Regions from separate parts of the Homo sapiens genome. Here region 2 is linked to region 1. Evidence: promoter capture Hi-C in 16 types of primary human blood cells and fetal thymus (Javierre and others, 2016). All regions are on one chromosome and are shown on one strand. Each heading gives the region's core, a stretch centred on a gene start or on the middle of the fragment in contact. The rest is flanking DNA. Distances are from core to core; before and after follow the strand shown.

Region 1 (6,300 bases), core at 2,617-5,116:
TTCCAGTTTTTTTAGTTCCTTGGTTTAATTTAGTTTTTTTTTTAACTTATAATTCATTGAGGATGGTTTTGAAGGTATGGAGGATGGGAAAGATAACAAACCCAAAAGGTAGCAAGAGAAAAAAAAAGATGGACCAAACTTACATGAGAAAAATGGTATCTGTTTCAGAGTCATACTTCGTATATTCCTCTTGGAATGCAGGATCAGAGAGGAGAAGTAGAAATATGATTTTATCTGTGTGCTTTAAACAGACTCACGTTAAGCAGTATTCATGTGCATGCATGCCTGTGTGTCTGCAATGAAATCATGTTTTAAAGAGGATTCAGCTACATTATATTTATAACTATGTGGTTGCTACCAGCTACCAGTATGTCTCCTTGTGGTGGTTCACTTCTCTTTTCTCTGTGTCCTAATTCTGTTCTCTAGTGTAGAGCTTTGCTGAAGCAGCCTGTTAGTCCCCCCACCACATACAATCCCAGCTGTGGCTTCCTGGGAATCTTGTTCTGGTCCCATACAGGTCATTGTTGTGACATGTTTGTCTCATTGCAGTAGAAAGTTTGAAGTATTGCAGAGCCAGACCCCTTCCTTGGCTGTGATGAATCAATCTCTCTATTTGGGGTCCTGTCCTATTAGGTCAGAATGAATGAACAACTGGAGCTTAACCAGATACAAGGCTCATTAGAAAACATCAGCTCAACAGCTTCTCAGGAGAACAAAAAGATAGGTATTGCTTCTTAAACATTACTGTGCATTGGAAGCACCTGGGGAAAGTGGTTAAACTGCAGATTTATGGGCTCCACCTGGAGTTTCTGAGCTCATTATTCTTAGTAGAGCCTGTGAATCTGTGTTTAAGCAAACACAGTAATATGATCCTGATACTGGAAGTTCAGAAACCACATTGGGACTCTGGGTGCCATATCCCATCACCCACCACCAATATGGCAAAATAACACCATTTTCCCATCCTCTTTCCACCTCCATCCCTTAGGCTACATGTTTTGAATCATTACATATATTTCAAAATTTATATTAACCCTTCATCACCTTGGTAACAACATGTGCAAGGTGATGGAGGGGCACACATTGTGATTCACTCCAGTTTAGCATCCCCTTCAGGATGGCCTGGGCGCCACTCACTCAGGAAGATTCAGGATACACCATGTGTACCTCTCTGGCTATAAAGTAGACATGCAGGGCACTACATGGAAAACACATTTCTGGGATGATGGACAAGGCAACTGCATTCTATGATTCATTGTGGCACAAGCTCTTCTCCAAGTCTCCTGATTCAACTACACAGACACCTCCTCTGAGCAGACATGAGTTCATTTCTGTGGGCATTCACGTTCCACTTCATATACACATCCAGGCTTCCTTCACTCAGTCCATCTCCCATTTTTCACATGTATAAACTTGCTCATATGTCCAAGTTTTGCATAAAATGCCATTTTTTTTGAGACAGGGTCTCACTCTGTCACCCAGGCTGGAGTCCAGTAGCGTGGTCACAGCTCACTGCAGCCTCAACCTCCCAGGTTCAAGTGGTCCTCCCATCTTAGCCTCCAGAGTAGCTGGGACTACAGGTATGTACAACCACGCCTGGCAATTTTTGTATTTTTTGTAGAGATGGGGTTTCACCATGTTACTCAGGCTGGTCAAATTCCTGAGCTCAAGCAATCCGCCCACCTCAGCTTCCCGAAGTGCTGAGATTACAGGTGTGAGCCACTGCACCTGGCCAAAATGCCACTGTTATGTGTGCTTAGATAATAAACACTATTCAAGCTCTTTTGTGCACTGTGACACACACACATAGATGCAGTAAATGGCACAGCATAATACAAATATATCATCTCAATCTTCTGGTGTAGATGTTCTTTTTGTGGTGCAAACAGTATATGCTTTAGAGTCAGATTCAAATCCTAGCTCTGCCACTTACTAGTTGCCTGATCTTAGAGAAGTTAGTTAAATGCTCTGGGCCTAAGTTCCCTCTTTAGGGTTAAATGAGAAGGTTTGTTAAACATGTAGAACTCTGCCTAGAACCTAAAGGAAACCCACAAGTGTTAGGTACCTCCTATATTTTTATTTTTCTGTATATGAAAGGAAATAGTCCTCAAATTTCTCTCATGCAGTACATAGCATGAAAAAATCATCCTGGCCAAAATAAGCAAAGAAAGAGTTTATGAAAGGATATTGGGTGGCTCAAAGAATTGCTGGGGAAGTGAAGAGCCAAGTGTAGAAGAGAGGCTAGAACCCAGAGAGCCTGCAAGACCACAGCCAAAAATCACACCTTGGAGCATCCTGGTGGCTTGACCTCTGCCACAGCTGATCATGTACACTGGATGCTGCTGCTGCCTCAGTGACAAAATCAATTCTCCACTGTCCTTGTTTCTTATATCCACCACTTGCTCCAGAATCAAAAAGCTCTGAGGGAGAGGTCAGCCTGGCTATGCCAGGGGCCCGGGCCTGCATTCCAGCTGGGATGGTCAGGGAGGTGGCTCTAGACTTTCTGGCTTCTGCAGTTGGAATTTCTCAGAATAAGAAGGGAATTGAGATGTCAGGCAGCCATAAAAGACAGCTGCCCAGGGTCTATTCTTCCCATTTCTCACATGTTCACATACATATTCTCCCTGTCTGTGTACACATTCACTCTTAGGTGTGGAGTCTGTCTGCTCCAGGAACTCCCCTCCAGCCTGGCACCACTCTGTTTTCAGATGCTACTTGAGACCTTTCTGCTATGTCTCTTTCCTCTGCCCAGAATGCCCTCGCCTGCCCCCTTTCCACCAGGGATCCTTGAATGGCTCAAATCTTGTGCTTTCTGCAAATGCCAGCTCAGATGTTACCCCTCCTTTATCGTGGTGCCCCCTCCCCACCCACGACTAACTTAGTCCTTCCTCTATGTTCCCAAGGCACTTTCTCTATGTCTCCATTATTGCACTTGCCCCGTTTTACTAGGAATAAGTATCATGTCTTTAATGGTCTGACCTTCCTCCCTTTCCTCGACCCAAGATGAGGCTCCTAAGGGCAGGAAGTCTATCTCATTCCACTTTGTAACCTTAGTTCTTAGCACCTAGTAGAGGCTTCATAAATATATTTCTTAAGCAAATCATACATTTCTCAGTTCTCTCTCAACACATACATTTTGAGACACAAGACAAATCCGTCTGACAAATAGGAATAATCCATGTGAATGCGTGCTGGAATCTATAAAGTGTTGGATGGATTTAAGCCGTTATAATCATTTATCTCATTCTGGTTTTACATATTTTCTGTTAAAGGGCCGGATGCCCTTATTCTACCTCATATTTTAACAGGAAAAAGTAATGACGCGAGATTCCCGCCTACCTTTTTCAATTCTGCGGAGCCTCTTGCCTGGTTCCTTGCACTGTCAAAAAGGAAACCAGACGGAGGGGCGGGGGTACCGCAGAAGCGAACATTCTAGCCTAGAGGACTTGCTAGTTAAGTCCTGTAAGAAGTTACGCCAAGTCCCCGCCGTCCCCCACCCTCGCCGCTGTCACTCTCTCCCCGTTCAGGTTGGCTGTGGCTGCCCGCAGACACAGGCTCCCCTGCTCGAGTCCCCAGCCAGCGTTCTCGCCCGGGTTCCCGAGCGCGGGCGTCCCTGGGAGAAGCCGCGATGGTCGCTCCCCGCTCGGCGCGGCCCGCGGGGCGGCCTCCCCCGCGCCTCTCGCTGCCTGCCACCCAGAGACCCCCTCTCTCCGCGTGGCCTCAATCACTCCACGCTGACCTTTGGGCCGCCGGGGGCCAGCACGTGACCGAGAAACTTTGGCAGTCGCGGCAGCGGGCGGCGGGGCGGAGGCGCGGGAGGCGGTGCGGCGGCCGAGCTCCCCCGCGCGGCGGGCTCTGCGGCGGGGAGACGCTCGCCCCGTGCCGCGCTGCCTGGGCATGCGGATGCGCCGCCGAGCGCTGCGCGGACCCCGGAAGCCCGCGGCAGCGCGCGCTCAGCCGGCGGCGCGATCCAGCCCCCGGCCCCGCCTGCGCGGCCGGCCCGGCGGGCGCTGCGCCCAGGGACGCCCGGTGCCCGCCGCTCCGCCGCCGCCCGCTGCCGCGGGGTGACAGCGATCCTTCTGTTCCAGCCATTTCCCACTTTCCTCACTCCGTAATTCGGCTGGGAAGTTGGGGAAGATGGATAGGGTCTTGCTGAGGTGGATTTCTCTCTTCTGGCTAACAGGTAAGAGTCCTTTTCAACAGAAACGAATAACTTTGTATATTCCTGTAGTGGTTCTGTTCTCACCGCGCCCCCCGCCCCCCCATTTTCCTCCTTACTGACCATGTTTAAAGCTGCTTAGCGGTCTGGTGGAAAGTGGGGGAGGGGGCAACGTGTGTGTTTGTGTATGTGTTTGTGTGTGTGTGTGTGAGAGAGAGAGAGAGAGAATGATGGGGGCGGCGGGGGAGAAGCCCAATGACAAGTGAGACGCATCTAGATGCAGGTGTTTGACTCATTGGCGCTGAGGTTGTTCTTTCGAATGCATTTCCCCTCCATAAAACGGTTCTCCTTCGGTCTTATCCTGAGTTTGTAATGCTGTGAGTCTTGTGAAAAGCCTGGCTGGAATAAAGGAAGCTCAGAGGGAGCTGATTAATTAAATGAACTGGTTTTCTGGAGGTGGAGGCTAGAGGACTGTCTCCTTAATTTCTTCCCTAGAGAAGGAGGGGGACCCAGGGCATTCTCTCTGTGGCTCTCTGGAGGGTGCAAGGAACTGGAGGTTGGGAAGAAGATGGGGATGGAACCTTCACTGGTTGTGGAGTTTAGAGCCTGGCTCTCTCTTACTTGGTATCATTTGGGGAGTGGTCCCAAATGATAATTAGAAAGCAGAAGAGCCTTTCTAATAGGTGCACTCTCCGCTCCCTAAAAGATAATTTGCAGAGAGATTTAGAGGCATTGGGCTTCTCCCCAGCATCAAAGTCACTGGTCTAGCTGGGTCCTCTGTGCCCTCCCCTCCTTTTTGGTGAACTTTCTCCCCATTCTGCTGGGGTCAGTAGATGCTCTTGTTCTTAACCTATTTCCCCACATGAGGATTCCGATTCCCATAGGGATACAGGGCCTTGGGGTGGCCAGCCCTGAGAGATTCACAAAGCAGCCCTGCTGAAGGGAGTAGGATGGGGGTGAGGAATGTCTGGATAGCTTGGACTGGGTCAGAGGCAACCATTCAAATCAAGGTGGAGGCAGAATGATGGAAGAAATGGAAAAAGGGATCAGAAAGGTGAGGACAGGATGGGGGTGGAAGGCAGGAGAGAAAAGGGACAATAGTACCACATGAGAAGTTTTGTCACCTCTAGCATCACCAGCCAGAAGATCTGGACAAAATCAAGGCACTAGGCAAAGGGGAACAAGCTTAAAATAGCTAAAACAAGTCATGTAAAGGGGGTAAAATACATTTAGCAAGAAAAGGCAAATACCCCATTTCCCTTAGCTTCAGAATAAGATTCTTCATTGCCTAAATATTTTTCCCATTTCAAATGAAATGCCCCTAACATTGCCGTTGCCCCACTGCTGGGTTTAGGCTGGGGGAGGCATCCTCAGCAGAGTTAGCCTCTTCTTTTGGCTGCTTTGAGTTCATCCCTCCCACATTATTCAGATATGAATCATCTCTAATTTCAGGGTTTGGCTGATCCATGCCACCCCGCTCCCCTGGCCTCCCAGTGCCTTCCACTCCCACCCTCACTGATTCTTCACATCCTTAATCTGCCTCTACTCTCGGTTATCAATATTCTCAGGGCACTTAGTCCTTGAGCCTGTATCACAACAGCACTGAAGTCAGCCAGGCATCGGGGGGGGGGGGGAGGGGTCCCTGAGTCAGAGGTGCTCTTTACAGACACGCTGGGGTCTGCCTAAAAGAAGTACTCTGGGGGTTTGCAGGGAGTGAGAGAAGAAGGGAAACATAGAGCTCTCTTTAGATGGCTCACAGCTTTTTATGAAATGGAATCATATCACTGGAGGGTACTACAGGAACTGTAGTTCAGCCCTCTCAGTTTATAGAGATGGAGTCCTAGAGAGGCAATATGCACATAGCACGTTCATGATTGATTAGGGACTAGATTCCAGTTCTCTCAAACTCCAGACCAGTCTCATTTGCCCTCTCCTAAGCTGCCTCTCTGGGCTTTTTGCTGGAGGGCTTTTTGTTTTATTTTTGTTTTGAGGGAGGTGATGGCTTTGTCTGTGCCTTCTGCCACCTGCACCTGGAGAGGCTGTTCTGCTTGGAATCAGGCAACAGGTTAGTTATCAGGACCAGCTCAGCTGTCAGATGGCTGGGGATTCTTTGCTCCAAAAGTGAGACTGACTCCTGGGAT
Region 2 (6,300 bases), core at 2,104-4,603, 410 kb before region 1:
AAAGAATAAAACAATGAGGAAAAACACGTGAAGAGATATTTAGGTTTACTCCAAGTAAACAACTGAAGGAAAGAGCCACATTTATGGATAACGATGAAGACCATGTAACACTACAGAATGTACAACATAATGTTCAGTGAGCAAAGCAGACAGTGAAATTATGTATACTGTAATTACAAGTAATTATGTAATTCTATAGAAAAAACATGAATACACAAAAATGAAATGAATACACAAAAATGAAACCTATTATAACTGGGTTTTCAAATGGTCTGAATACATATATCTTATGTCTTTTAATAAATTACTCTTTATTTCAAAAAATCTATTTCATAAGTCTAGCACTTCAACTGTCAAAACAGTAGACAGCATATCTGTCTTGTTTACCACTATTACATCTCCAACCTGTGACACAGTATTATAAAAACAGTATTCAAGATCATAATTCAAAATCATTAAGGGGGAAAAGTAAACCACCTGCAGTTTAAATAGCTTATAACAGGTTTCGCTTTTGTATATCTGTTCCAGTTTTTTCCCCAAGGACCTATATCTTTAAACCTTCACTGTAATTATGGTATACAAAATTTTACTCTCTGCTTTTCTTATTTAACGTTGTTTTAACAGAGCAAGACACTGTCTCTAAAAAATAAAAATTAATAAAAATTAAAAATAAAAATAACTTTTTGGAAGAGAGAGGGTGATGGAGACAGGCATGCAAGCACAGGCACACATACTCTCTAAGCCTATGCTAACACCAGTTAATCGAGCAAGAATCTATAGAAGATGAAAACCCCAAATTAACCAAAATCCAAATTAATTTTCTGGAATTTGTCAGCTAACCGAGGACTTTTAAAGAAGAGTGAATATATTTAATGGTTTAAATAGTTGTCTGGATATATAGCATTTTTATTTGTTTTAAGCACTACCACTGACTTACTCTTTGATAGCTTGGACTACTGAAATCAGGAGTATTTCAGTTTTCATAGTTATCCTTTTTAAAAACTAAGGCAATATTCTCATAATTTACTTAACCAGTTCTTAATTGCTAGACAGTTTTTATGTTTTCACTAACATAGATAACACAATGAAAAACTTTATGCATATTAGTTATTTTTTCCACCTATGTGTGTAATTAGTTCTTTTGAGATAAATTCTCAAGGGCTTTTCTGGTAACTAGATAAACAATTTCATGGTTTTTGATACATATCATAACGTTGGTTCCCACTATGCAACACTCTTCCACATGACTTACGTTAGCAGTTTTAAAAAATGTTTTGCTAATTCAAGAAGTAAATGGTAGTTCCCTGCTGCTTTAATTTGTATTTCTCTTACTACTCAATGTCAAAATTTTCCCATGTGTCAATTATTATCTGTATTTCTTTGAATGTGAATTGGATTTACGTCCTTAACCAATTTATATATTAATGATATTTATTCTCATCCTTATCCTTAGAGAGATCCTCAAATTTTATAAAGGAAGCTTTGTCATATTAATGCAAATGCTTTTCCAATTTGCTTTCTTCCTTTTATTTTTCAGGGTACATAAACCTTTAAATTGTCATTTGGGTGAGCTTTTAATTTTCCTTTCTAATATATCCTGTTACTTCAAATCTGAGAAAGCTTCACTTATTTCTAACATTGATAAAATTCCTTTTAATCTGCTAGCTTCTTCTTTGTTGAATATTTGATTATTTAAATCCATGTATAGTTTATTTTGGGACATGAGGGTATAGTCTCTTTTTAAAAATAAAATACTCTACTTTCTTATCACACAAACTTAAGGTTATTCTGTTCTATTCACAAGCCCTGAGTGGAACACACCTCACTAGTGGGAGGCACTGCCTGACTGCATCTTAGTTGCTCAGTTGACTCCTCCTGTGAAGAGTAGCCCAGGTGAGCGATTATAAACCAGAATTACAGATAAAGTCTGTGGCTGTGAATTTTTCTTCTTCAAATTTAGATGAGTTATATAAGCCTGACCTTTACCTTATGAGTCAAGGCTTCCTCCAAAGGAACTAACTGTCCCAGAAAACTACAGAATAAGCATTACACAGGCGACAACTGGAGTTAAGTTCCTCTCTTATCCTGTTTCAATGACAATAACAAAGTTCATTTCTATGTCATGCTGACACTGCGTAATTTTCAACCTGACCATTTTGGAGGAGCCAAAACGAGCACCAACCATAGCAGACCCCTATGTAGCTGTACATTTCTCACAGCGAAACTGGTTGACAGTTACAGGTGAGTCTTAACTATCACATTGTTACTTCATCTCCGGGCCTGAAGTAGCCCCATTCTCAAATAATAAAGGACTAAAAATCGCTTGGGTACCTTTAGATGGGGTGGTTACAGATAAGTTACCCCAGCTCCAGAAACCTCAGGCTGGACTGGGCCAGATCTAGAAATGGCAGAGTAGAATTCAGTGAGCAGGAGTCAGGATGAAGCCACAACGGCCCTGCCACCATATGCAGAGAACGGAGGCCAGGAAGAAGTCTCTGGTATAGGCTTTTTTCAAAATCCCAACCTCACTCTTGCATTCAGCATATTCACAAATTCACCATTTAAAAGGGCAAAGTATATGTTTCAGCAACTACAGTCATACAACTGCTACTAATTGCAGTAGCAGTTACTACAGATAGTAGTAGATACAGAACATTCTCATCACTCCCAAAAGTTCCCTTGTTCCCTTTGCAGTTAATCCCCACCATTAGCCCCCCGTCCCTGGCAACCACTAATATGTTTTATGTACCTTAGTTTTGTCTTTTCTAAAATGCCATGTGCATTGAATCATACTGTATGCAGTCTTTTATGTCTTCTTTCATGTAGTATAATGCTTTTGAGATTCACAGGAGATGCATGTATCAGAAGCACGTTTCTTTTTACTGCAAAGTAGCATTCCATCATATGGATATGCTAAAGCTTATGTTACCTAGTCACCAGCTGATGTATATTTAGGTTGTTTCCAGTTTGAGGTGAATAAAGCTGCTAGAAACATTCACATACAAGTCTTTGTGTGGACGTATGCTTTCATTTCTAGGGACAGAACTGCTGGGTCACAAGGTACATGCACATTTAATTTTATAAGAAACTGCCAGCCTGGTGCGGTGGCTCACGCCTGTCATCTCAACACTTTGGGAGGCCAAGACACGCAGATTGCTTGAGCCCAGGGGTTCAAGACCAGCCTAGGCAACATGGCGAAACCCCATCTCTACAAAAAATAGCTGGGCATGGTGATGCACGCCTGTAGTCCCAGCTACTCAGGAGGCTGATGCGGGAGGATTGCTTGAGCTTGGGAGGTCAGGCTGCTAGAGTGGGCTGTGATTGTGCCACTGCACTCCAGCCTGGGTGACAGAGCAAGACCTTGCCTCCCCCTCACCCCCCCAAAAAGAAACTGCCAAAATAATTTCCAAAGTGTGTATACCATTTTGCAACACCACTAAGCAATGTATGAGAACTCTAGTCGCTTTACCTTCTTGCCAACACTTGGTTTTGTCATAGCCTTTTAAATTTTGCTTATTCTAGTGACTGTGTAGTGATATTTCATTTAAATTTTCCTGATCACTAACGGTTTTTGAGCATCTTTTCATATGCCTGCTGGACATTTACATATCATCTTTGGTGACGTATCTCCAATTTTTTTGCTGCCCATTCCTTTAAATCAGATTGTCTTATTATTAACTTGAATGAGTTCTTTAGACATTCTGAACACAAATGTTTTATCAGATATGTTTCATAAATATTTTCTCCCCATCTGTGGTTTTCTTTTCATTCACTTGAGAGAAGCTTTTGATTTTTATGAAATTAAATTTATCCATTATTTTATGGTGCTTTTTGTGTCCTATTTAAGAAATCCTTGCCTAACCCAAGGACACAAAGATTTTTTTCCAAGCTTTTTTCTCTAAGTTTAGGTCTATGACCCATCAAACAAATCTTTGTACATGGTGTGAAATAATAGTCAAGGTTTTTTATTTTTTTTCCCTATTGTTTCAGCTGCATTTTTTGAATGACTTTTTTTTTCCCATTGAAATCCTTTGGCACCTTTGGCAAATCAGTTGGCCATATACATGTGGATCTACTGGACCTTCTATTCTGTTCCACTGATCTCTATTTCTATCCATATGCCAGTATTACACTGTCTTCATTACTTGAGTTTTATAATTATTCTTGACATCAGTAGTCCTTCAATTTTCTTCTCAAAATCGTTTGGTTATTCTGTGTTTTCTACAGTTCTATATAAATGTTAGAAACAGTATGCAAATTTCTACAAAAAAGCCTGCTAGGTATTGGTTGAGACTGTTGAATCTAGAGGTCAATTTGGGAAAAACTGACATTTTAACATTTAACTTAAGTCTTCTGATTCATGAACATATTACTTCTTTCTATTTTATAGGTCTTTAATTTTATGCAGCAATGTTCTATAGTTTTCAACTATAGAACTATTTGTATAGGCCTTACAAATATTTTGTTGTTTACCCCTAAGTACTGTAAATTTCTTTTTCTTAATTTCAATTTCCAAATGCTCACTGCTAGTGTATAGAAATGTAAATGATTTTTATATATTGAGTTTGTATCATACTTGCTAAGCTCACTTATTCCAGTAGCTTTTTTTGGTAGATTCCTTAAGATTTTCTACATAGACAATCATGTCATCTAGCAACTAAGATAGTTTTACTTCTTCCTTTCTAATCTGTATGTCATTTATTAATATTTTATTTTATTGTCTTATTGCATTACTGGCACCTTGAGTATAATGTGGAATAAAAGTGGCAACTGGTCACTTTGCCTTGTTTCTGATCTTAGGGGGAAAGTATTCAGTTTTTCGTGAAGTATGATGTTGGTTTTTTTCTTTTCTTTTTTTTTTCTTAATACATGCTCTTTACCAGGTTAAGAAAGTTACCTTCTATATCTAGTTTGCAAGAGTTCTTATCATAAATGGATGCTGAATTCTGTCAAATCTGGTAATGTGTTAGTATTAAGTGATAACTTCCATACTGCAGACAAAGAAAGTCAGAGCTGGAAGGAGATTCAGGATCAGCCAGTTCAGTCACCTAATTTATAGATGAGAAGACTGAGGTCCAGAGAGATAAAATGACATGTTCAAAGCAACAGCTAGATAAGAAGTGGAATCAGGTCTATAATTTAAACCTTTATATGTCTAAATTTTTTTAATATAATTATAGTGTTTATATGGTCTAGTAGAAATGAGCTAAAGCACCATAAAAGCATTGAGAAAAAAGAAAATATAGAGATCAAAATCTCTTAGCAGTTTCTGAGAAAGGGTAAAGGGTAACAATGGATTTTTAACTGAGGCTCACTAGGTTTCCAGTTTAAGTGGTAATATCTACCGCCAAGTATGGTGAGGGGAGATGTCACATAGCTAGAACTCATTACTCATTTACTGCTAATGCAGTTATTCTTTAAGAACATATAAGAAACAGGAACTCTGAAGATTTTCAAAGACTATATTGATTTGGTAGCATTGAGCTGATAAGCCTAGCTTTGATTTTCTGGTCAGTTTTCGAAGACCGAATTATTTTTATTAGATTTAAAAAAAAAATTAAATAAAGTCCAAAAGTCTCCCCAAACAATATGATAAGAGAAAGCAGCCCCCATAGAAGAAAACTGACCTGGGAGGTGAGGGTGATGCTTGGCTGCGACTGTAGGAGGTTGGCTTGGCTTTGCTGAGGTAGTTGCGTTAGAAGATTTTGCGCTTGCAGGAGACCTGTAGAAGAAAAACATGTTATCCAGAAACATTAAAGATTTCTTCGAACACATGGCAAAAGAAAGAAAGAATCAGAAAATGAGCTGAAAATTTCCAGTTGATCTCTGGTAGTCTTACTGGTATCAAAACTCTTATTTATCTTATTTGCCTTACATTCAATCTTGTTTTACAACTTGGAAGAGAAGATATACAACATTAAATTAAAACTGATATGTCTTTGGCATAATCTGAATAAGCTCTGTGATAGGTCAATCCTTTATTTTAGGAAAGAATGGGATGAAAGTTAAAAAACTATTCTAAATAGAAACAGCTGGAAATTCCAAAAAGAGCTCAACTTCTTAACCTAGAATCCATTAGAAACTGCCAGCGTATGTTGGACCAGAGGAAAAGAAGCATTTTCAAGTTCTCTTTATCAAACATTTGCCTGTTGGTGATAATAAAGTTGAAATGTAAAATATTCTATTAATATCTGCATGAACACTGAACTGTCTTAGTTTCAAATAATTGATAATGTAATGCCACCAATGCTTCATGATGACAAACTGACATTCAAAGTAGAAATACAAACTCTTTGTTTG

Evidence for each region. Contacts are between HindIII fragments. The CHiCAGO score rates a contact against its expected background, and 5 or more counts as called.
Region 2: a fragment that was not itself captured here is called in contact with the fragment with the promoter of ILDR2 in region 1 in 1 of 17 cell types (total CD8 T cells); the score reaches 5.3 in total CD8 T cells.

What each region holds. Positions count from the first base shown.
Region 1 is chr1:166,973,106-166,979,405 of GRCh38, reverse strand. It overlaps ILDR2 (immunoglobulin like domain containing receptor 2), which reads left to right and starts at 3,866. Exons shown (of 10, transcript NM_199351.3): 1 at 3,866-4,183. The coding sequence starts at 4,138. It also overlaps a transcript of MAEL not described here. RefSeq lists silencers at 3,447-3,496, 3,617-3,906, 3,967-4,016. The HindIII fragment of the contact is 7,595 bases long and covers 1-5,346 here.
Region 2 is chr1:167,383,279-167,389,578 of GRCh38, reverse strand. POU2F1 (POU class 2 homeobox 1) reads right to left here. Exons shown (of 16, transcript NM_002697.4): 8 at 5,628-5,722. Among named protein-coding and RNA genes, the nearest start is that of CD247, 130 kb to the left of the region's middle. The HindIII fragment of the contact is 864 bases long and covers 2,922-3,785 here.